3 separate regions of the Homo sapiens genome follow, and regions 2 and 3 are each linked to region 1. The links are contacts of gene promoters, found by promoter capture Hi-C in blood cells and fetal thymus (Javierre and others, 2016). All regions are on one chromosome and are shown on one strand. Each heading gives the region's core, a stretch centred on a gene start or on the middle of the fragment in contact. The rest is flanking DNA. Distances are from core to core; before and after follow the strand shown. Region 1 has its middle 31 kb from the start of NUMBL. Region 2 holds the start of AXL (AXL receptor tyrosine kinase). Region 3 holds the start of HNRNPUL1 (heterogeneous nuclear ribonucleoprotein U like 1).

Region 1 (3,595 bases), core at 848-3,347:
CTATGTTGTCTAGGCTGGTCTGGAACCTCCAGCCTCAGGCGATCCCCTTGCTTCAGTCTTCCAAAGCAGTGGGGTTACAGGCGTGAACCACCTGGCCTGGTCTCGCTCTTTCTCTTTCGACATCTACATTGATCTGTAGCTATCTACGTACTATAGATATCTAAAAGTTATGTAAATGTCTACTTAAGCTTATAGGTATGAGCTACTGTATGCTATCTAAGCTTATAGGTATGAGCTACAAATTGCTATTGTGTTATGAGGGGAATTCAAAAAGTTGATGGAGAATGGAATTAAGAGATAAAAATTTTAAAAAAATCTTTATTTCTCACCATAAACTCCATCAAGGTCAAAGTCAAGACACTTTTGTAAACCATTATACCAGCCATTTAGTCTATCCCTAAATAACTGAGGGTCCCAGGAATTTAATCATGTCAGTGCAGCCTTTTTACATTTTCTCTTTCTTTTTTTTTTTGATGGAATCTCACTCTGTTGCTCAGGCTGGAGTGCAGTGGTATGATCTCGGCTCACTGCAACCTCTGCCTCCCGGGTTCAAGCCATTCTCCTGCCTCAGCCTCCTGAGTAGCTGGGACTACAGGCATGTACCACCACATCTGGCTAATTTTTTTTTTTTTAGTAGAGACGAGGTTTTGCCAAGTTGGCCGGGCTGGTCTCAAACTCCTAACTTCAGGTGATCTGCCCGCCTCGGCCTCCCAAAGTGCTAGCATTACAGTTGTGAGCCACTGTGCCAGGCCTTTTTTTTTTGTTCTTGTTGCCCAGGCTGGAGTGCAGTGGCATGATCTCGGCTCACTGCAACCTCCACCTCCTGGGTTCAAGTGATTCTCCTGCCTCAGCCTCCCGACTAGCTGGGATTACAGTCATGAGCCACCACACCTGGCTAATTTTTGTATTTTTTTTTTTAGTAGAGACAGGGTTTTGCCATGTTGGTCAGGCTGGTCTTGAACTCCCAACCTCAGGTGATCCACCCTCCTTGGCCTCCCAAAATGCTAAGATTACAGGCGTGAGCCACTCCGCCCAGCCCAGTCTTTTTACATTCTTAACTGAAGAAAAATGGGTGCCCTTCAAAGATTTTAAGATTAGGAAACAAAAAGTCAGAAGGAGCCAAATTGGGACTGCCAAGTGGATGCCTAATAATTTCCCATCAAAACTTGTAAAATTGCTCGTTTGATGAGGAGAATGAGCAGAAGCGTAGACATGCTGGAGAAGAACTCTCTGGTGAAGCTTCCCAGGCTTATTTCTACTAAAGCTTCGGCTAACTTTCTCAAAACACTCTCATAATAAGCAGATCTTATTATTCTTTGACCCTACAGAAAGTCAACCAGCAAAATGCCTTGAGCATCCCCAAAAACTGTTGCTATGACCTTTGCTCTTGACCAGTGTGCTTCTGCCTTGACTGGATCACTTCCCCGCTCTTGGCAATCATTCTCTGATTACGATTTGTCTTTAGGATTGCACCCGTGAAACCATGTATCATTTCCCGTTACAATCCTTCAAGGAAATGCATTAGGATCTCGATCTCACTTGTTTAGCATGTCCATGGAAAGCTCTGCTCTTCTCTGCAGCTGATCTGGGTGCGACCGTTCTGGCACCCATCGAGTGGAAAGTTTGTTTAGCTTTAATTTCAGTCAGAATTGTGTAAGCTGAGGCCGGGTGAGGTGGCTCAAGCCTGTAATCCCAGCAGTTCGGGAGAATGAGGCAGGAGGATCACTTGTGTCCAGGAGTTCAAGACCAGCCTGGGAAACCTAATGAGACCCCCATCTCTACAAAAAATACGAAAATTTAGTGTCAGGCCTCTGAGCCCAAGCTAAGCCATCATATCGCCTGTGACCTGCACGTATACATCCAGGTGGCCTGAAGCAACTGAAGAGCCACAAAAGAAGTGAAAATAGCCTTAACTGATGACATTCCACCATTGTGATTTGTTTCTGCCCCACCCTAATGATCAATGTACTTTGTAATCTCCCCCACCCTTAAGAAGTTTCTTTGTAATTCTTCCCATCCTTGAGAATGAACTTTGTGAGATCCGCCCCCTGCCCGCAAAACATTGCTCCAAACTCCACCGCCTATCCCAAAACCTATAAGAATTAATCATAATCCCACCACCCTTTGCTGACTCTCTTTTTGGACTCAGCCTGCCTGCACCCAGGTGAAATAAACAGCCTTGTTGCTCACACAAAGCCTGTTTGGTGGTCTCTTCACAGGGACGCGTGTGACACTTAGCTGAACGTGCTGGCACGCACCTGTAGTTCCAACTACTTCGGAGGCTGAGGTGGAAGGATCGCTTGAGCCCAGGAGGTTGAGGCTGCAGTGAGCCACAATCTCACCACTGTACTCAGCCTGGGCGACAGTATGAGAACCCTGTCTCAAAAAAAAAAAAAAAAAAAAAGAAAAAAGAATTGTGTAAGCTGTACCAATTGAGATGTCTATGGTGTTGGCTATTGTTTCTGCTGTTAACTGTAAGTCCTCTTTAATTAAGGCATAAACAAATTTAATTTTTTTCTGCAAAAATTGATGTGGATGGTATGCCACGGTGGGCTTCATCTTCAGCATGACCCAGGCTGGAGTGCAGTGGCGCAATCACGGCTCACTGCAACCTCTACCTCCCAGACTCAAGTGATCCTCCCACCTCAGCCTCCTGAGTAGCTGGAACTACAAGTGTGCACCACCACACCCAGCTAATTTATGTATTTTTTGTACGGATGGGGTTTCACCATGTTACCCAGGCTGGTCTCGAATTCCTGAGCTCCAATGATCCGCTGGCCTCAGCCTCCCAAAGTATTGGGATTACAGGCGTGAACCACCACGCCCGAACTTGTCCCTTCTTAAAACGAGTTATCCATTTGTAAATGGCTGATTTCTCTGGGGCACTGTCAAGTTTTTGGAAAACATCAATGATTTCATCATTCTTCCACCCAAGCTTCACCATCAATTTGATGCTTGTTCTTGCTTCAATTTTAGAATTCGTGTTGCTCTGATAGGGGCTCTTTTCAATCTGATGTTTTATTTTAGTGTCTCAAACTAGGTCCTGTTCAGACAAGTTATAACAAGTTAGTATGAATTTATTTTGGTGCAAAAAAAAAAAATTGAACTCCATGCATAGTTTTTTCATAATACACATTTTCCATGAATTTTTGGAAGACCCTTCTTTTTCTCTCTTTTTTTTTTTTTTTTTTTTTTCTGTAGAGATGGTCTTGTTCTGTCACCCAGGCTGGAGTGCAGTGGCACAATCATGGCTCACTGCAGCCTCGACCTCCTGGGCTCAAGCAATCCTCCCACCTCAGCTTCCTGTTACTGGGACTATAGGTGTGCACCACCACACCTTGATAATTAAAAAAAAAAATTTTTTTGTAGAGATCGGGGTGGGGGGGGGGGTCTCACTATATTTTCCAGGCTGGTCTTGAACTCCTGGCCTCAAGTGACCCTCCCCAATCAGCCTCCCAAAGTGCTGGGATTACAGGCACAAGCCACAGTGCCTGGCCAATAAATGTTTTTTGAATGAATGAAGAAATTAGTGCATGGACATATTTTCCCATCAGCTATTACAATAACCAGACTCTGAGTTCCCTGAAGGCAGGGC
Region 2 (3,432 bases), core at 927-3,426, 560 kb after region 1:
AGCATGTTGGGAGTGAACAATATGAGGACCTAGATTGGGCTGGGGGGGCCAGGCAGTGATGCGATGGAGAAGGGATGATAGAGTTGGGGACAAAGTGCTGCAGGAGGTTGCTCCAAGTCCTCTGAGGGGGCTCTTTGGGTGAGAAAGCGAGAGAAGCCTGGGGAGGCGAGGGGAGGGTCACAGAAACATAAGGAGTTTAGGGTTCTGCTGAAAGGTTTGGGGCAGAGGTGGGAAAGGGTTTGGTTTGAGATTGGGAAGAAGCCTTCTGACTGTTGAGTGGGAGACAGGTTGGAAGGAGCAACAGAAGCCAGCAGCCCATGGCCGGGCACAGTGACCCACGCCTGTAATCCCAGCCCTTTGGGAGGCCGAGGCGGGCAGATCACGAGTTCAGGAGTTCCAGACCAGCCTGGCCAACATGGTGAAACCCCGTCTCTACCAAAAATACAAAAATTAACCTGGCATGGTGGTGCACACCTGTAATCCCAGCAACTCAGGAAGCTGAGGTGGGAGGATCACTTGAACCCAGGAGATGGAGGTTGCAGTGAGCCGAGATCGAGCCATTGCACTCCAGCCTGGGCAACAAAGCAAGACTGGGTCTCAAAAAAAAAAAAAAAAAAAAAGACACAGCCCAGGGAGACAACGGTGAAGGGCCCTAAGTGGCCAGTGACAAGGAGCTGGGAGCTTGCCCTGAGGGCAGCAGGAGGCCATGGGCAAGCAGAGAAGGGACAGGGTAGGATTTGACTTTCAGAAACAGTCCTCTGGTTGCTAAATGGGAGAAAGGAGTGACAGTAGAGGCAGGAGAAGGCAGGATCAGACGGGGGTGCTGGGAAGGGGCAGGTAGAAGAGACATCAGGAGGCCAAACAGATAGGACTTTATGATGCACCGTAGGTATACCAGTACCCAAACACAGGTGGCCAAGAGCAGAGGGATAGACGCCCAGCCTCCTCCTCACAGACATCCAGGCATGCAGAGCCCTCCACGTGCCAAACACACAGGGCCGAGGAATGGAAGTGCAGCAGAGCCGATACGCAGGCAGCAGATCTGCAATAACCAGGACACACAGTCCCACCAGAAGGAGAGAGCAGTGGAATGATCAGGGCTCACTGCAGCCTCGATCTCTTGGACTCAAGCGTTCCTCTCACTCCAGCCTCCCTAGTAGCTGGGACCACAGGCACACGCCATGATACCTGGTTAAGTTTTAATTTTTAAACTTCTTGTAGAGATGGGGGTCTCAGTGCATTGACCAGTCTGGTCTCGAACTCCTGGGCTCAAGCGATCCTCCCACCTTGGCCTCCCAAAGTGCTGGGATTACAGGAGTGAGTTACTGTGCCCGGCCAACAACTATTCTTATTCCCATTTTACAGATGGACAAACTGAGGCTCAGGAGGCCAGTCACTTGCCTGTAGCCCACAGTTAGTGGTAGCACTGGGATTCCAACTTGGGTCCCCTTCATGTCGCCTGTATTTGGTGTCCCATTTAGGCGTCCATGCAGGTTTTGGCGTGTCTGAAGATCTGTGTCTCCCCAAGTAAGTGTCCCCCATGGATGCCCACCCAGCCGTGTCCTCCTGTCTCTGAGGTTTCTCCAGGAATCGAGCTCCTGGCCTGGCTTGTCTGAGTGTGTCTGTGGGCCAGTAGCATGCCCCTGCCCGTCTGGGTCCCTCTGCGTGTCTCTGCTTGTCCTAGCCTGTGTGTGTCAGTGACGTCTAAGAGTGTGTGTGCGTGCGTGCGTGCGTGCGTGTGTGTGTGTGTGTGTGTGTCCTTGTCCGAGGAGCCGAGAGAGTGAGGGGGAATGAAGGGCCAAGGAGGCCTGGCTGGGGCTGGGCTGGGGGTGGAGGCGGGGAGAGGGGCGTCACGGCCTGAGCTGAGAGGGGAGTGGAGTTCTGGAGGAATGTTTACCAGACACAGAGCCCAGAGGGACAGCGCCCAGAGCCCGGATAGAGAGACACGGCCTCACTGGCTCAGGACAGGGGGCACAGCCACCAGGGTCCCCTTCCCCCTCCTCAGCTCCCTCCCTGGCCCCTTTAAGAAAGAGCTGATCCTCTCCTCTCTTGAGTTAACCCCTGATTGTCCAGGTGGCCCCTGGGCTCTGGCCCTGGTGGGCGGAGGCAAAGGGGGAGCCAGGGGCGGAGAAAGGGTTGCCCAAGTCTGGGAGTGAGGGAAGGAGGCAGGGGTGCTGAGAAGGCGGCTGCTGGGCAGAGCCGGTGGCAAGGGCCTCCCCTGCCGCTGTGCCAGGCAGGCAGTGCCAAATCCGGGGAGCCTGGAGCTGGGGGGAGGGCCGGGGACAGCCCGGCCCTGCCCCCTCCCCCGCTGGGAGCCCAACAACTTCTGAGGAAAGTTTGGCACCCATGGCGTGGCGGTGCCCCAGGATGGGCAGGGTCCCGCTGGCCTGGTGCTTGGCGCTGTGCGGCTGGGCGTGCATGGCCCCCAGGGGTGAGTGATGGGGGCTCCTTGGGGCAGGGATCCCCTCGGAGGGGCTGGGGCAGGGGTAGGAGGTGGGGGATGATGGCAGGTGTGGGGGGCCTGGGCTGGCTTAGGGAGTTTCCTTGGGACCACAGAAAAGGGACTTCAAGGGAGGGAGACACAGACTCAGAGACACCAAGTGCGGCAGAGGGAGAGAAAGACTGAGAGAGGAACTGAAGGGCAGGGGGGACAGAAGAGAGGACCCGGAGAGACAGACAGACAAGGAGAAGCTGAGGGCAGGGGTGGGGGCTGGACCTGAGAAGGGGGCCATGGGGAGAGGGGCTGAGCTGAGGGTCGCCAGGAAGGAAGAAATCTTTCCGAAGGGGCACCGAGTCAGGCAGTGGGATGAGGAGGGCTCTGGAGCCCTGGGGGAAAACGCTTCTCCCTGCCAACACCACCCCCCTGACCCGCCACTTGTCCCTACCCCACCAGTCCACTCCATCTCTGGGGAGGAGGCTCTCACTTTGTCTCTCTGTCTCTGCCTCCAGCTCTGCTATCTCTGTGGGTCTCTGTTTCTCTCTCTTTCACAGTCTCTGCCTTTATCTCTCCCTGCTCTCTGAGTCTCTCTCTCTCTTCTCAGCCTCCCTCTGTGACTGTATCCCCCCTCCGCCCCCACCTTTTCTTCTCTCTTGAGGGCTGTTTCTTCATTTTTTCTGTCTTGCCTTGTATCTGTGCTCCTCTCTGTCTCATCTCCCCTGCCTTTCTCTGGCTTCTCCCTCCGCCACCACCCTTATCTCCCCCCACCACCACCCTTATCTCTCTCCCCCAACCCCTGATTCTTCCCCTCCATCCACCAGCACCAGCGCGACCTGTTAAGTCTCTAGAGACCTAAGAGAGGACGGAGGGGGCAGGGGCTGGCCCTGCCAGGCAGTGCAGGGCGTGGGAGGCTGCCAGATCCCGAGCCTCCTTCCCGACGGGATGGACGCTAGATCCCAGTCCCTTGGGAGGGCTCCCGTCCTCCTCTCAGAGCC
Region 3 (3,265 bases), core at 263-2,762, 600 kb after region 1:
TGAAACCCCGTCTCTACTAAAAATACAAAAATTAGTCGGGCATGGTGGCGGGGACCTGTAATCCCAGCTACTCGGAAGGCTGAGGCAGGAGAATCGCTTGAACACGGGAGGCGGAGGTTGCGGTGAGCTGAGATAGAGGCCCTGCACTCCAGCCAGGGTAACAAGAGCGAGACTCCGTCTCAAAAAAAAAAAAAAAAAAAAAAGAACAACAAAAAAAAGAACTGGATGCGTCTGATCTGACGCACGCCTGTTTGTTTACGACTGCGGGGTGTGCCTTTGTCTGAGTAGAGATAGTGTGTGGCTTTTGCGGGCTTAACGTGTGGCTCAGGAGGCAGTGGGAGTCTGCATCATGTATCCCGATTGCGTCTTACTCGAGTTTTGTTTTGAGTTAGAGGCGACAGGTGGTGCAGCGTTAGACACTGGGAAGCTCTGTGGCTTTTGTATTCCTGAGCGCGAAGGTTAATGACGGATCCGTGGGGTTGAGCTTGTCGGTACAGACGCCAGACAGCCCGATTTACGGGAACAGCCGATTAGAGGATTCGGGAGAGCGGTCGGTGAACTTCTGGATGTCTTTCGGGAGGGGAAGGCTCTATGGTCGCGTGCAGAGCGCCCGTTCCACGTCAGGTACCCGACCATAGAGCAAGGCGGCCGCGGACTACCCAAGGGAAGGGGAGGCCGTGTCCTTTACAACTTGCCTCCCGTTGTTAGTCTAGTTTCTATAGCCAAACCTTCGGGACTCTCTCAACTCAAAATTTTGCTTTTCCTAAAGGCAACTGGGTTCCTTCCAGATTACGAACTGTGTATCCACTTAATCTCTATTTCGTATACCTCCTCCTACAGCGAAATTTGTGAGGCAGTCCTCTGAAGCACGGCCAATCTGGTGAACTTTTCCTAAAATGAGCCATCGCTACCAGCTTTAGTGAGCTAAGACAATAACTGCGATTGGTGGGCAGATTGTTTTGAAACCGCCCTAACGGCAAGGGGCGGGCTCCTGGTGAATTCATCTCTTTCCGGTTTCTTAAAGGCAACAGGAAGGAGGGGTTTCTGCCGACCCTCCATTTGATTGGTTCTAGTGGTTTTACCCGCTCGGACTCCTCAAGGGGCGGGAGATGTACACCAATCGGAATGTGTGTTACAGAGACACTTAGTTTGATGAAAGGACTGCGCAGGAAAGGCCGTGGGACACTCATTCTGAGATCTTACCGTTGATTGGACCAAATTGTTACTCCCTTATTTTCATTGGACCTTACGGCAGCCGGCGCGCGAGAGTTACCCAATCAGCAAGCGCTCCGCCTCCTGCCTTTTCCCGCCCTCCGCTCCGGCCTCGGCTTCGACGTAGGCCAACGCTTCCTCCCCAGTAGCTCCTAGGCCTTCTCGTGGCCGTTGTTTTGAAAACGGCGCTCTGATTGGCTAGGTTTCCGGGCCCGCGCCCGTTGCCCCACGCACTGACCAATTGGCACTCATGTAACATCGGACGAGGCACGAGTGAGGGGGGAGGCGGTGGCGGCGGCCATTTTGAGCCGCTGCCGCCATTGGAGTGGGCCCCCCCCCTTTCCCCCTTCGCCTCCTGACAGGAAAGGTTTAAGGGGGACAGAGCCCTGGGAGGCCGGGCCGGGCTCGGGGGCCACCCCGGGGGCCCGGGCCATGGATGTGCGCCGTCTGAAGGTGAACGAACTTCGCGAGGAGCTGCAGCGCCGCGGCCTGGACACTCGAGGCCTCAAGGCCGAGCTTGCTGAGCGGCTGCAGGCGGCGTTGGAGGCCGAGGAGCCTGACGACGAGCGGGAGCTCGACGCCGACGACGAACCGGGGCGACCCGGGCACATCAACGAGGAGGTCGAGACCGAGGGGGGCTCCGAGCTGGAGGGGACCGCGCAGCCACCGCCGCCCGGGCTGCAGCCGCACGCGGAGCCCGGCGGCTACTCGGGGCCGGACGGACATTGTGAGAGTGCGCGGGGCGGGGGCCGGGGAGCCCGGAGCCTGGGCCGAGGAAAGGGCTGTGGGACGCGGGAGTCCAGCGCCTGAGGTCGGGGAGACGACCTGAGGATCGGGGGATCCCGCTACCCGCCGCCGAAAAGGATCTGGGGACCAGGGCCCCAGCACGACCGGAGGGTGGATCCTGACACTCAGTGCAGGGGGGACACTGGGGGAGGGGCCTCTGGGTTTCGGAGGTGAGGGACGGGGGTGGCGGGGAGGATTCCGTACCGTAGGGATCGGAGACCGGAAACTGCTTTCTGGAGCCGAAGAGAGTCGGAAGAACAAGAGGTTTTCCGTTTGGGTTGGGGAGGGTCTCGAAAATGGGGATCCTAGGGTACGGAGCTCCGTGGGCTTGGCGGTCGTGCTAGCCCAGCGTGTGGGCTGGGGGGTGGGGAGCCGTGTTTCCAGGGTGGGGAAGGAATGTCCAGGTGTGCGGGGCTGCGAGAGTTCTGAGGAAGGAGGATCCTGGAATATGCCGCTGGATGCGATCCTGGGCGTTCTCCTATTTGGGTACGGGGGTGGGTGGGAGAGGTGGAGGCGCTGGTGTCTGTGGCTGGGGAGGGTCCTAATGGACTCAGTGCTTTGGAGTTTGGCTAGTGAGCATTTAGGGGCTGCGGGAGATTGAACTAGGGGGCACCCCCATCTCTCTTCCGGGGCTGGAAGGCCACCCTTGAAGCAGGCACAGCCTGGACATTAGGTGCTGGGAGATCTGGGGACTTTCTGGTTGGCTTCTAGAAGAGGTATAGGGAGCCCTGGTGTCCAGAGGCTGGCGGGGGAGAGGATGCTTTCCTGGACAAAGGATCTGGGGGTCTAGAGCTAAGAAAACTGAGGGCAAATAACTCTTGAGGCTGCTGCTGACTGGTCTGGAGCTAACTGTGGGGTTTTTGGAGAACAGAGGGTAGCTGGGGGTGGGATGGGGGCAGATGAGTTGGTAACATTCCAAGTGGATGAAATATGTGGCGGGAGACAGAGGATCCTGTGTCCAGCACAGGAGTACGTATCTGGCTTAGCGAATATGGGGAGGGGGGAGGCCGTAGGGAGCAAAGAGAAAGAAACCTGTTGACTTCACTGGAGGCCTCAGAGTGGAGTGTGGGGAATGTTTCTGGACCTGAGCGTCTCCAGGAGAAATCTCGACGGTTCCCAGAAGCAGTTATTTGTGTACCCAGGGAGTGGGGGCCCTCGGGGAGCAGCACGGAACTCTTCATCAGCCAGGAGCTGTGACTCTGGGAATGGGTTCGGGTAGACCTGCGGTTGTCTGAGGAGAGGAAAACCTGATATGGGACGGCGTGAA

Evidence for each region. The method cuts DNA at HindIII sites, captures the fragments that hold promoters and counts their contacts. A CHiCAGO score of 5 or more calls a contact.
Region 2: the fragment with the promoter of AXL here is called in contact with a fragment that was not itself captured in region 1 in 2 of 17 cell types (naive CD8 T cells and total CD8 T cells); the score reaches 8.8 in naive CD8 T cells.
Region 3: a contact is called between the fragment with the promoter of HNRNPUL1 here and a fragment that was not itself captured in region 1, in 1 of 17 cell types (naive CD8 T cells). The highest score is 6.7, in naive CD8 T cells.

Annotation. Positions count from the first base shown.
Region 1 is chr19:40,658,172-40,661,766 of GRCh38, forward strand. No RefSeq gene overlaps it. Among named protein-coding and RNA genes, the nearest start is that of NUMBL, 31 kb to the right of the region's middle. The HindIII fragment of the contact is 1,671 bases long and covers 1,263-2,933 here.
Region 2 is chr19:41,217,047-41,220,478 of GRCh38, forward strand. AXL (AXL receptor tyrosine kinase) reads left to right here and starts at 2,177. Exons shown (of 20, transcript NM_021913.5): 1 at 2,177-2,431. The coding sequence starts at 2,347. RefSeq lists an enhancer at 1,318-2,142 and a silencer at 1,751-1,890. The HindIII fragment of the contact is 40,135 bases long and covers 1-3,432 here.
Region 3 is chr19:41,262,860-41,266,124 of GRCh38, forward strand. It overlaps HNRNPUL1 (heterogeneous nuclear ribonucleoprotein U like 1), which reads left to right and starts at 1,513. Exons shown (of 15, transcript NM_007040.6): 1 at 1,513-1,939. The coding sequence starts at 1,645. RefSeq lists enhancers at 1-484, 485-1,024, 1,025-1,563 and silencers at 1,569-1,808, 1,899-1,968, 1,989-2,038. The HindIII fragment of the contact is 17,682 bases long and covers 1-3,265 here.